2 separate regions of the Homo sapiens genome follow, and region 1 is linked to region 2. Evidence: promoter capture Hi-C in 16 types of primary human blood cells and fetal thymus (Javierre and others, 2016). All regions are on one chromosome and are shown on one strand. The core of a region is centred on a gene start or on the middle of the fragment in contact, and the rest is flanking DNA. Distances in the headings are between cores, read along the strand shown.

Region 1 (5,487 bases), core at 1,384-3,883, 270 kb after region 2:
CTCATCAACTATCTGAAAGACAGCCTCTAGGTTTACTTCTGTCTTTGTATTTTCATCAGTAGTACTGCAGGGCCAATTGGAAGGCAAAAATTCAACTGGATAGGAGGACTGCATTGAAGGATTCTGGGAAAAGAAAAAATATAACTGTTTGGATAGAAAATAAAATATGAGATTAAGGAGGAAAGCTACAATATTTAGGCTGATGAGTGCTAAACATAAATAGATTAAACTTAAAGATCACTAAGAAAACCTAGACACTAATCTACTTTTCAGCAATAGTAGCTTCAAATCTACTGTTAGCATTTACTTAGTATATACTACATGTCAACCACTCTGCTAAGTTTAATACTCCAATGGTCAATAATTCTTAAGGTTAAACTGTACAAAATCAAAAGCTATAGTACCCAAATACCTATTTGCTGATAAAGCATCTATACACCAAATTCTTCCATAAAGGCTGACAGACAGAAACATAATTTGTATCTATCATATACTGTTTCAGGAATGCAGTAAGGAAATTTCAAACACAGGATGCTCACAAGTCTACCAATCCTTCTACAGATTCAGGGAGCGGTACTAATATTCTGTTCCAAATAATATGGGGAAAAATGGATGGAATATCAAATGTCCTTTGTTTCCTGGGATTATTTATTTTTAATAACAAAGCAATAGACTAAAATGGCTGTTGCTTTTAGATTTACATCTTTAAGATATATTCCCTTGTATATACTGCTTTGCAGAGAGTAGGCATTTAATACATGTTTGGTGATAAAGATCTGTGAACATAAAATACAGAAGAATGATTAAATAAAACATGTAATGAATTGATGTTGCACAATGAAGAGCTTCGCACAGAGTAGGCATTCAATAAATGTTTGCTGATTATATCAGATTATAAACTTAAAATACAGAAGAGTTATGATTAAAGAAAGTATGTAGTGAGTTGATGCTGCTAAACACAATCATTAACAAAGATTGTCAAAGATTTTCAGAAGGCCACTAATGCCAAATAATGTAAATTCAAATGGTATAAGCACTAAGTGACTATAGCCAATAGCACATTTATTGAGTTATTACTATGTGCCAAGCACATGCAAAGTGCTTTATATAGATTTCATCCAACCTTCAAAAGAGCCCTGTGAAATGTGATAATCTCCATTTCAAATGATAAAACTGAGGTCCAGAAACTTCCTAATTTACCCAAAGTTACAATGAAATAACTGACAGAGCCAGGTTTCAAGCCTAGGTTTGCCGTATTCAAGAGCTCTTGCTCTTAAACAATACAATGTACTGACTGTGCACGCACACTCTCACCCATACCTACAGTCCAACTAAACCAACTGCATTTATTTTCAGGATGGAATCTGAAACACTTTCCCATTTTTCTATTTCAAAATTTTATGTGTGCTTATTGCTATTTTCCTATGATGAACACGTATTGTCTTTTTAAAATTTTTTGTTTTGTTTTTGAGACAGAGTTTCACTTTTGTCACCCAGGCTGGAGTGCGATGGCACGATCTTGGCTCACTGCAGCCTCCACCTCCCAGGTTCAGGCGATTCTCCTGCCTCAGCCTCCTGAGTAGCTGGGATTACAAGCGCCCACCACCATGCCCAGCTAATTTTTGTACTTTTAGTAGAAACAGGGTTTCGCCATGTTGGCCAGGCTGGTCTTAAACTCCTGACCTCAAGTGATCCACCCACCTCAGCCTCCCAAAATGGTGCTGGGATTACAGGCGTGAGCCACCACGCCTGGCAGATTTTTTTTTTTTTTTTGAGACAGGGTCTCACTGTGTTGCACAGGCTGGAATACAGTGGCACAATCATAGCTCACTATAGCCTCAAACTCTTCAAACTCCTCAAGGTGGGAGGATCGCTTGATCCTCCCACCTCAGCCTCCCAAGCTAGGACAAAAGGTGCATGCACCACTACATCCAACTAACCCACCCTTTCTCTCTCCCTCCCTCCCTCCCTCCCTTCCTTCTTCCTTCCTTTATTTCTTTTCTTTTTTTTTTTTTTTTTAAGAGATAGGGTCTCACTCACTATGTTACCCAGGCTCATCTCAATTTCCTGGCCTCAAACAATCCTCCCACCATGGCCTCCCAAAGAGCTGGGATTATAAGGCATGACCCATTGTACACGGCCATATATTGTCTCTATAACAAGAAAAGGTCTTTATAAAAATGTTTTATTTAGCACACAACATAATCAAGATATAAACACTGCCATAGTATCTCCAGCATGATCCAGAGAAGAGAGTGCCTGGACCCACAAACAAGAGCATCTAACTGTGGGATAGGTATGTCCCTCCAGTGAAGATGAATGGGCTAGGATATCATGCTTGATCATATCAGCCATGAAAAATGGCCAGCTAAGTCCCCTTGATCTCATTCTATACTCCAAACAACAATCTGATTATAATTTGACTTCCTATGTAGATTTTCTCCAAAAAAAAAAAAAAGGGAATGTTCTTTTGAGTACCCTAATGCCACTAGTAAGATATTCTCCTAAGAACTGAGACTATCTTGAAACTATCTTGGCTAGATGATTATCCAAGGCAAACACACAATTCCAATCTTTGGCAGTTACAGCATAAAAATACAAAGCATGGAATTTAAAAGTATCCTTAAAATAGCTATATAAAACGTTTAACTCCAAGCAAGTGTCTCCTAAGAAACAATGAGAAGATATTTGAAGTAAAAGTTGAGCATCCTTAATCCAAAATTCTAAAATCTCAAATACTCCAAAACCTGAAACTTTTTGAGTGCTGGCATGATACCACAAGTGGAAAATTCCAGCAGAAAAGCACTTAACACAAACTTTGTTTCATGAACAAAGTTACTAAAAATATTGCATGAAATTACCTTTAAACTATATGCATAAGGTATATATGAAACATAATTAGATTTTATGTTTAGACTCGGGTCATATTCCCAAGATATCTCATTATGTTTTTGGAAATATTCCAAAATCTGAAAAAATCCAAAATCTGAAACACTCCTGGTCCCAAGCATTTTGACTAAGGGATACTGAACCATTATGGTGTTTACAACATAGGGGCTATGGATGAAGGGGGCCACCACTTAAATTTCTCATTTTTGACATTTTTCTCCTTTCTCCTTAAAAAGAAAAGTCTAATTTATCTGTATCATCTTGGAAGAATCTGTCATTTGGTGACTTACACACTTGTAGCGTTTATCTGGTATTCATTTTACCTTGGAAAAATCCAGAACAGCACTGTTTAAAATAACTTTCAGCAATGATGGGAATGTTCTAGATCTGTGCTGTATAATTCAGTACCCATAAGCCATATGAAACTACTGAGCACTCAAAATGTGTCTACGTTAAGTATGGAATAATTTTTAAATCAATTTAATTTTAATTTTAATAACCATATGAGACTATTGAGTACTTGAAATGTGACTAGTATAACTGAGGAATTTTTAAATTTCATTTAATTTTAATTAGCTTAAATAGCCACATGTGGCTAGTGGCTACTATATTGAACAGTTCTGGCCTAGAAGAATTCTGAGATATTATTTATATCAATTCTCTCTTTTTTTTTTTAAGAATTGAGAAAACAAAGCCCATTAATCCACAGCTTACTTCTGGTTACTCATTAATATAAAATTACACTTTGAAATTTTGCAATATCGATAAAATTGCACATAAAGCGCGGAGCATGGCCACAGTTGCAAGAATCTTACCTGGAAGTAGTTGCAGTGTGCATAGGAAGAGGCAGTGGGAGTGACACAACTACTTAGAGCATCCATGTGGGTAGGAGAACAGCACTGTAGCACAGCTGGAACAAATTCAAACACAGAAAAGCCATCAACCACAATACATTTCTATAGCATTCAAGGAGCTCCCCTCTTTCAACATGGAAAGAAATCCAAATTTGAAGAACTTCTTTTGTATGTCTAACAAAATATTTAGTCCAATTAGGTGGTGTTATTTATTGAAAACAACACACACAGTAACAAAATAATTTTAAAGGTCTTTAAAAGGGTCATGTCTAATGTCTATTTTTATAAATCATTTCTTTAACACCTAAGCATTTTGTTACCTTTCTAACCAAACATATATTCTTATTGAAAGTAATTTCATTTTATTGAAAATAGAGGAATATATTGAAATTCCAAAATAAGTATTTCAATCATTTCAACAGTAACAACTATTTGGAGGGTGGAGTGTTTTAAAAGAGTAAAATAACTATGAAGTATTCTCCAAATGTTCCACCATTAAACAATGCATCCAGTAGAAATGTACACAAAAATGTTTTAATAATTTAGGCAAGTGGTCAGGAATGCAGATCACAGAGCCAGACTGCCTGGTTTTGGAGCCCAGCTCCACCAGCCTGGCTTTACAGCCCAGTGTAAATTTGAGCATGGTTAATCTCTGTGTACCTCAGTTTCTGCATCCTATTAAAATAGAGATAATAACAGAATATAGAACCTACCAAATATGGTGGTTGTTGTGATATAAATGAGCTAATATCCATAAAGAACTTAGAAGAGTACTGGTACACAGTAAGCAAACAGTAAGTGTTAGCTGCTATTATTTTAACTGAAGAAACACATTTTCAAAACTTTCCCTTTATAGTCAGGACACTGTGAAAAGATTGAACTCTTGGTACTAGCAAAGTTACTTACAGATGCAGTCTTAATAATAGGTTGAGTCTGCTTTTTTGTAGAGACTCTCCAGTATAAGTGAGAATCAGTTATTAATATCACAACTGTGGTTTAAACAGAGGATGATGTACATTGAACACCCACCCTATTCCAGGCACAGTAGTAAATGCTTTACATACATTGCCTTTACAAAACAAGTAAACTAAAGCTCAGTGATATTAAGTAATTTGCCAAAAGTCACAAAGCTGGAAGTGACAGAGTCAGTAATTAAACTCCAAAGCACACGCTCTTTAATATACCACAATACAGCGAGGCATGGTGGCTCACTCCTGTAGTCCCGGCACTTTGAGAGGCTGAGGCAGGTGAATCCCTTCAGCCCAGGAGTTTGAGACCAGCCTAGGCAACACGGTGAAACCCCGTCTCTACAAAAAATACAAAAAACAGCCAGGCTTGGCGGCACATGTTTGTAGTCCCAGCTACTCAGGAGGCTCAGGTGGGAGGATCACTTGAGCCCAGGAGGTAGAGGCTGCAGTGAGCCATGATTGTGCCACTGCACTCCAGCCTGGGTGACAGAGTAAGACTCTATGTACAAAAAAAATTTACATATATATATATCTCACAATAATTCCCTAAGCTAAACCCTGTTCCTGAAATGTAACATTTGTAGTTTTACTAGAATTCTACTTGCCGAATATCTTTAAAGGTGTCTTTATCAATAAGGTGGCAACTCTCCCTTTTTATGTCCACATTTTTCATATTTTGAGTGTGCTAATCTCATTATTTAATCTTTAAAGGTAAATTGACCTAAGAATTTTTAAAAAATAGCCGAAATGCTTCCCTATTTCTCCATGACTATTGA
Region 2 (5,920 bases), core at 206-2,705:
AGGGGCCTCCGCTAAAGATAAGGAGATAAGATTAGGAGGGCTCAGGCCATCAACTGGAGCTTGTGAAAGGGGTTGCCGAAGAGAGGTGGTTGTTTCAAGAGCAACGGTTGGGCTGGTAACATTGCTGTGGGAGGAGGAGGCTGTGGAAGGCACCGGGCAGGGTTTCGGTAGGGTGTGGGGGTGGGGGAGGAGAAAGGACACTTGGAACAGCCTCCCTGGGAGTCTGGAGCAGGCACGGGGTCCACACTGAAGAAGGAATGGACGTGTCCTCCTGAAGAAGGGGCGAGGACACGCAGGCTGCTGGCCACAGTGGTGGTGACTCTGGAACTGTCTCAGGGATGAGCATGTGCTCTCCAGGCAGCCGGGATGAGGTCAGAGGCAAAGGATGAACCTGGCTCATCCAGGGCAGGGAACTACAGGAGGAAGGCTTAGGTGCAGAGAGGGTGGGCCCTGGCAGAAGGCCGACTGGGATGCACTCTGCACTTAAGGTGGAAATGGAGGCGCACTTAAGGTGGAAATGGAGGCTCACCCAAGGTCACGAAGCTAGTGACAGGGCTGGATTCAATCCAGGCCAATCAGACCCTGGTGCAGCACACTGCCTCTAAAGAAGCTACTTCTCACCAAGCCCAATAGGAACTCATAATTGAAATCTACTTCTCAGAGTAAACCTACTACTGATTGGCACCTAAGAAACTCCAAGAGAATAAAGCCCATGGCGGGCGCTTACTTTTAGGCTCTGCAGCAGCTCACTGGGCTGGGTGTTTTACCTGTGACATCTCGCCATGTCCCCAAAATGGCCCCATGAGGGATTTCACTGCCAGGCCCTGCCTCAGTCACAGCCTCACACTCTCCCTGGCACCTTGGAGGGAGTGAGTAGGGCTAGGGGATAAGGAGAGGGGCCAAATCATTCATCACAGATCATTCATTCACTCAACAAACACCTGCTAAGCACATACTAAATGCTGGGCTTTGAGCTGGGTATGGGGGGTGTGTATAACAGTAAGGCAGATTCAGTTTCTGCCCTGTTGCAGGAGGAGAGGCACCCTTCCAATCATCTGGCCCAACTCTCATTCTAGGGATGTGAAAACTGAGGCCTGGAGAGGGAAAGTGGCTTGCCCAAGGCCATGCAGCCAGGCGGTGGCGACTGAGGTGCACCGCTCCTGTCAGCCAACAAATATCCATTGAGCGACACCTGTGTCCCAGGTGCTGCTCTGGGCCCTGGGAGAAGTGCATCAGTGGGCTTGGTAGTAGAGGGTAGGGATGGAGTGAAGGGTAGGCAGGAAGAATGTCCCCAGGCTGGTAGGAGGTGGGGTGGGGGGTTTCAGTCTCAAAACTCCCATGAAAACCAGAGAGAAGTTTCAGAACTCCACCCAAGAGGCTGGGTTTCTAGGGCCCAGAGCTGCCCTCCCCCACCCTAGAATGGGCTATAAAAGTCCCTTCCCAGCTACGTCCAGAGAAGAGCTGGAGGAAGTGAGAGGTCGGCTGGGGGTCCTCAAAGTGAGAGGGGAGCAGAGGATCCTCCCGTGCAGGCTGTGGATGTCACTCACTTCCCAGCTGGTGAAGCCTCGCTGCAGAGATGCATCTGCTCCCAGCCCTGGCAGGGGTCCTGGCCACACTCGTCCTCGCCCAGCCCTGTGAGGGCACTGACCCAGGTAATAGTCCCCTAGACAGGCAAGGAGGAGGGAGGGGAAATGGAAGGGGAAGCACTTGGGTCTTGGAGGGGGTCTTGTGGCTTGCTGAACCCTGAGTCCCCATCTCTTTGAACAGCCTCCCCTGGGGCAGTGGAGACCTCGGTCCTGCGAGACTGCATAGCAGAGGCCAAGTTGCTGGTGGATGCTGCCTACAATTGGACCCAGAAGAGGTGGACTTGGGTCTGGGGGCTGCATGGGCCTGGGAGGATCAGTGAGGGGCATGGGCCCCAGCCAAGTTCATCTCACTCATCAGCCACCTCTGGACCCCATGAACATTTCCTGTTGGTAGAGCCTCCCTTCCATCCATCCTTCTGTCCGCTTGCCCTGTCCTGACTGTGCCCCAGGACTGGGTCTCTGCTGGGTGGGTCTGCACCCTCTCTCCAGCCCTCACTCCTCCTCTCCTGGGCAGCATCAAGCAGCGGCTTCGCAGCGGTTCAGCCAGCCCCATGGACCTCCTGTCCTACTTCAAACAACCGGTAGCAGCCACCAGGACAGTTGTTCGGGCCGCAGATTATATGCATGTGGCTTTGGGGCTGCTTGAAGAGAAGTTACAACCCCAGCGGTCCGGACCCTTCAATGTCACTGGTACTCTGATCCCCACTGAGCCCGCTGGGCCTACCCTGGCCTGGAGTAGAAGGAATCCAGGAGAGGGAGGCAGGGTGCACAGGTTTGGGGTGCTGGGAGGAGAGAGGGTAAAGGGATGGGAGGTACAGAGCAGGCCAGCTCAGGTCTGCCCATTTGCCTTCCCACAGATGTGCTAACAGAACCACAGCTGCGGCTGCTGTCCCAGGCCAGTGGCTGTGCTCTCCGGGACCAGGCCGAGCGCTGCAGCGACAAGTACCGCACCATCACTGGACGGTGCAACAACAAGTGCGTGCGGGGCGGCAGGAGGGGCTGCCCCTGCCTGGGGGACCTCTCCCTTCCTGCACCCACCCTCTCCCTCCATGCTGAGCCATCTCCAGGCCCTGCCCCCTGCTAACCTATCCCACCCATGGCTGCAGGAGGAGACCCTTGCTAGGGGCCTCCAACCAGGCTCTGGCTCGCTGGCTGCCCGCCGAGTATGAGGATGGGCTGTCGCTCCCCTTCGGCTGGACCCCCAGCAGGAGGCGCAATGGCTTCCTTCTCCCTCTTGTGAGTTGGGGCTGAGGGTTTGGGAGGTTGCTTGATCTCTTAAATGCGGGGAGTAAAACACAGCCCAGAGTCACGCAGGCAGGGCTTGAACCCAGGCCCTTCCACTGACCAGTGCAGTGACTTGAGGCAAATAACACAGCTTTCTGAGGCTTAGTTTCCTCATCTGTAAAATGGCCCTAAAACCTACCTCGTAGAGCCTGTGTGGATATTGAAGTCCTTGGTATAAATAGCTATAGAGGACATGATCTATTCATGCTAACCATTACGGTGTTGTACGGTTTTTTCTGAGAAAATTAGTGTCAAAGTCTTGCTAAATATAAACAGCTCTATACCTTAATCTGGCTTTATCTATTGATCTATTTCACATTTATCAACTCATCAGTTTTCTATTGATATATCGATAGAGCAGTCTATCATCTACCCATCTATCAACATCTATTAATTAATTTTCTTCTATCCACCCTTCCATCTGCTGACCCCGTACTCCCTACGTGTATTATCCATCACCTGGCAACCAGCCCATGCACCTGTGAATCCGTGCTATCATCTGGTTAGCTATCAGTGTACAAATTGATCTATCTATTTGATCTCCCTTCCCCTCTGGGAGAGCTGGTGAGGTCTGAGCCAGTCAACCTAGCCCCTCTCCTTCTCTTTACCACCGGAATCCTCAGGAGCCCAGCCAGAAACCATCCTTCTAGGAATGAGAGCAGGAGGTGGCTACGCCTCCAGGGACAAAAGGGGCATGGAGGGCAGAAGAGGAGAGGCTGTCAATTCCAGCAGGGGAGCTGCTGCTCCCTGAGTCCTGGGTTGGCTCTAATACCTTGTGGGGTCAGGGAGCCCATGTCCCGTGCTGATGTTATTTCCCCACCAGGTCCGGGCTGTCTCCAACCAGATTGTGCGCTTCCCCAATGAGAGACTGACCTCCGACCGTGGCCGAGCCCTCATGTTCATGCAGTGGGGCCAGTTCATTGACCATGACCTGGACTTCTCCCCGGAGTCCCCGGCCAGAGTGGCCTTCACTGCAGGCGTTGACTGTGAGAGGACCTGCGCCCAGCTGCCCCCCTGCTTTCCCATCAAGGTACCTACCCTCAGCCAATCTCCCATGCCCTTGTGTGGCCTCCCCCAAAGGCAAGGTGCTGGGGGTGGGGATCTGGAAGACTGGAGCACCATCCTTAAGGAGCTGCCTGTGGAGCTAGGGTATGAGACAGAGACACAAGAAACACAGCTGAGCAGAGACCCCGCGCCGTGTGTGTTTGAGAGGTGGGGGTAGGGCAATCTGCCAGGAGGCTCAGGTCAGGCTTCATGGAGTGGGAAGCCCTTGACACATGCCTTGACCCATGGGTCTGAATCCAACAGGGGAAGCCTCTGGGCCCCTGCTTTTGGCAACCTAAGGGCCTCTTAGCTCTTGCCCTTCTCTCCTTCCCAGAGTAGTCCAAGGGTCCTGCGGCTCTTGCCAGCTTCTTGGGCTTGGGCTGTAAGTAGGGTCCTAACCTTCAGGCTAGAAGCCAAGGACAGTGTGGGGCACTAGGGGAGGAAAGATAGAATCCAGGGAGCAGAGTCTCTGCTAGGAACATAGGGTTGACACACGTGCACACACACACTCTCTCACACACACACACGTGCACACACACGCTCCCTCTCACACACACATGTACACACACAGTCACCCTTAATAGGTGGGGCCACATTCATGAGGGATGACATGTGAGGGCCTCTGGATGGCCTCTCCCTGTTGCAACCTTATCTATTCCTCAATCCCTGGCTTAGGGGCACCTCCTCTGGGGAGCCTTCTCAGATCTTCCTATTACACTTTTAACATATGTCCTCCCCTCCCCTCTCCTCTCTCTCCTTCCTTCCTTCTTCCTTCCTCTTTCTTTCTTTCTTCTTTCTTTCCTTTCCTTCCTTCCTTCCCTTCCTTCCTTCATTTCCTTCCTTCCTTTCTTTCTTTCTTTTTCTTTCTTTTTCTTTCTTCCGTCCTTTCTTTCTTTATCTTTCCTTCTTTCTTTCTTCTTTATTATTATTATTATTGTTTTGAGACAGAATCTCACTCTGTTGTCCAGACTGGAGTACAGAGGGGCAATCTCAGCTCACTGCAACCTCTGCCTCCTGGGTTCAAGCAGTTCTCATGCCTCAGCCTCCCGAGTAGCTGGGATTACAGGCATGTGCCAACAAGCCTGGCTAATTTTTGTATTTTTAGTAGAGATTGGGTTTCACCATGTTGACAAGGCTGATCTCAAACTTCTGGCCTCATGTAATCCACCTGCCTCGGCCTCCCAAAGTGCTAGGATTATAGGCGTGAGCCACCACACCTGGCCCACATATGGCTTTTCTATCAAGCACAGCAGATGCCACTTCAACTTAGTTTCTTAACTCTATGTGTGTGTGTCTTTTTCCACTGAACTGCCAGCTTCCTGCAACCTTTCCTGTGTTTTTTTAACCTTCATAATCTCCAAAGCAGCAAGCAAGAAAGGGGCTTAGAAAAGGTCTGTCGAATTGAACAGAATTAAAGAAGCTCAGGCCTAAGAGTCAAGAGAACTAAGTTCTAATCCCACCTTTCCTGCTAACTGGTTGTCACTTCCCCTCTCTGAGGCTGTTTTCCTTGCTGTAAAATGAGGATCGAGATTGTTTCAAAAGCCTCATTCATTCCTAACCTTTTGAGACTCTATGAAACAAAATGTTAAGGACACTCAGACTGACGGGGTGAGCAGCATGAGCCTGGGTGAGTCAAGGAGGGCTTCCTGGAGGAAGGGAGTTTTAAGCAAGGTTTTGAGGAGGTGGAAGATGACGGAGAGGAGTGAGTCTGCTATTGAGGGGGCCCCATGTCACTGTCTCCTCTTCCATCTCAGATCCCACCCAATGACCCCCGCATCAAGAACCAGCGTGACTGCATCCCTTTCTTCCGCTCGGCACCCTCATGCCCCCAAAACAAGAACAGAGTCCGCAACCAGATCAACGCGCTCACCTCCTTTGTGGACGCCAGCATGGTGTATGGCAGTGAGGTCTCCCTCTCGCTGCGGCTCCGCAACCGGACCAACTACCTGGGGCTGCTGGCCATCAACCAGCGCTTTCAAGACAACGGCCGGGCCCTGCTGCCCTTC

Evidence for each region. The method cuts DNA at HindIII sites, captures the fragments that hold promoters and counts their contacts. A CHiCAGO score of 5 or more calls a contact.
Region 1: a contact is called between a fragment that was not itself captured here and the fragment with the promoter of EPX in region 2, in 1 of 17 cell types (M2 macrophages). The highest score is 5.5, in M2 macrophages.

Annotation. Positions count from the first base shown.
Region 1 is chr17:58,463,181-58,468,667 of GRCh38, forward strand. HSF5 (heat shock transcription factor 5) reads right to left here. Exons shown (of 6, transcript NM_001080439.3): 3 at 3,705-3,799; 4 at 1-123. Among named protein-coding and RNA genes, the nearest start is that of HSF5, 22 kb to the right of the region's middle. The HindIII fragment of the contact is 6,600 bases long and covers 1-5,487 here.
Region 2 is chr17:58,191,271-58,197,190 of GRCh38, forward strand. It overlaps EPX (eosinophil peroxidase), which reads left to right and starts at 1,456. Exons shown (of 13, transcript NM_000502.6): 1 at 1,456-1,652; 2 at 1,768-1,861; 3 at 2,101-2,276; 4 at 2,444-2,561; 5 at 2,693-2,822; 6 at 3,694-3,900; 7 at 5,669-5,920. The coding sequence starts at 1,577. The HindIII fragment of the contact is 9,173 bases long and covers 1-5,920 here.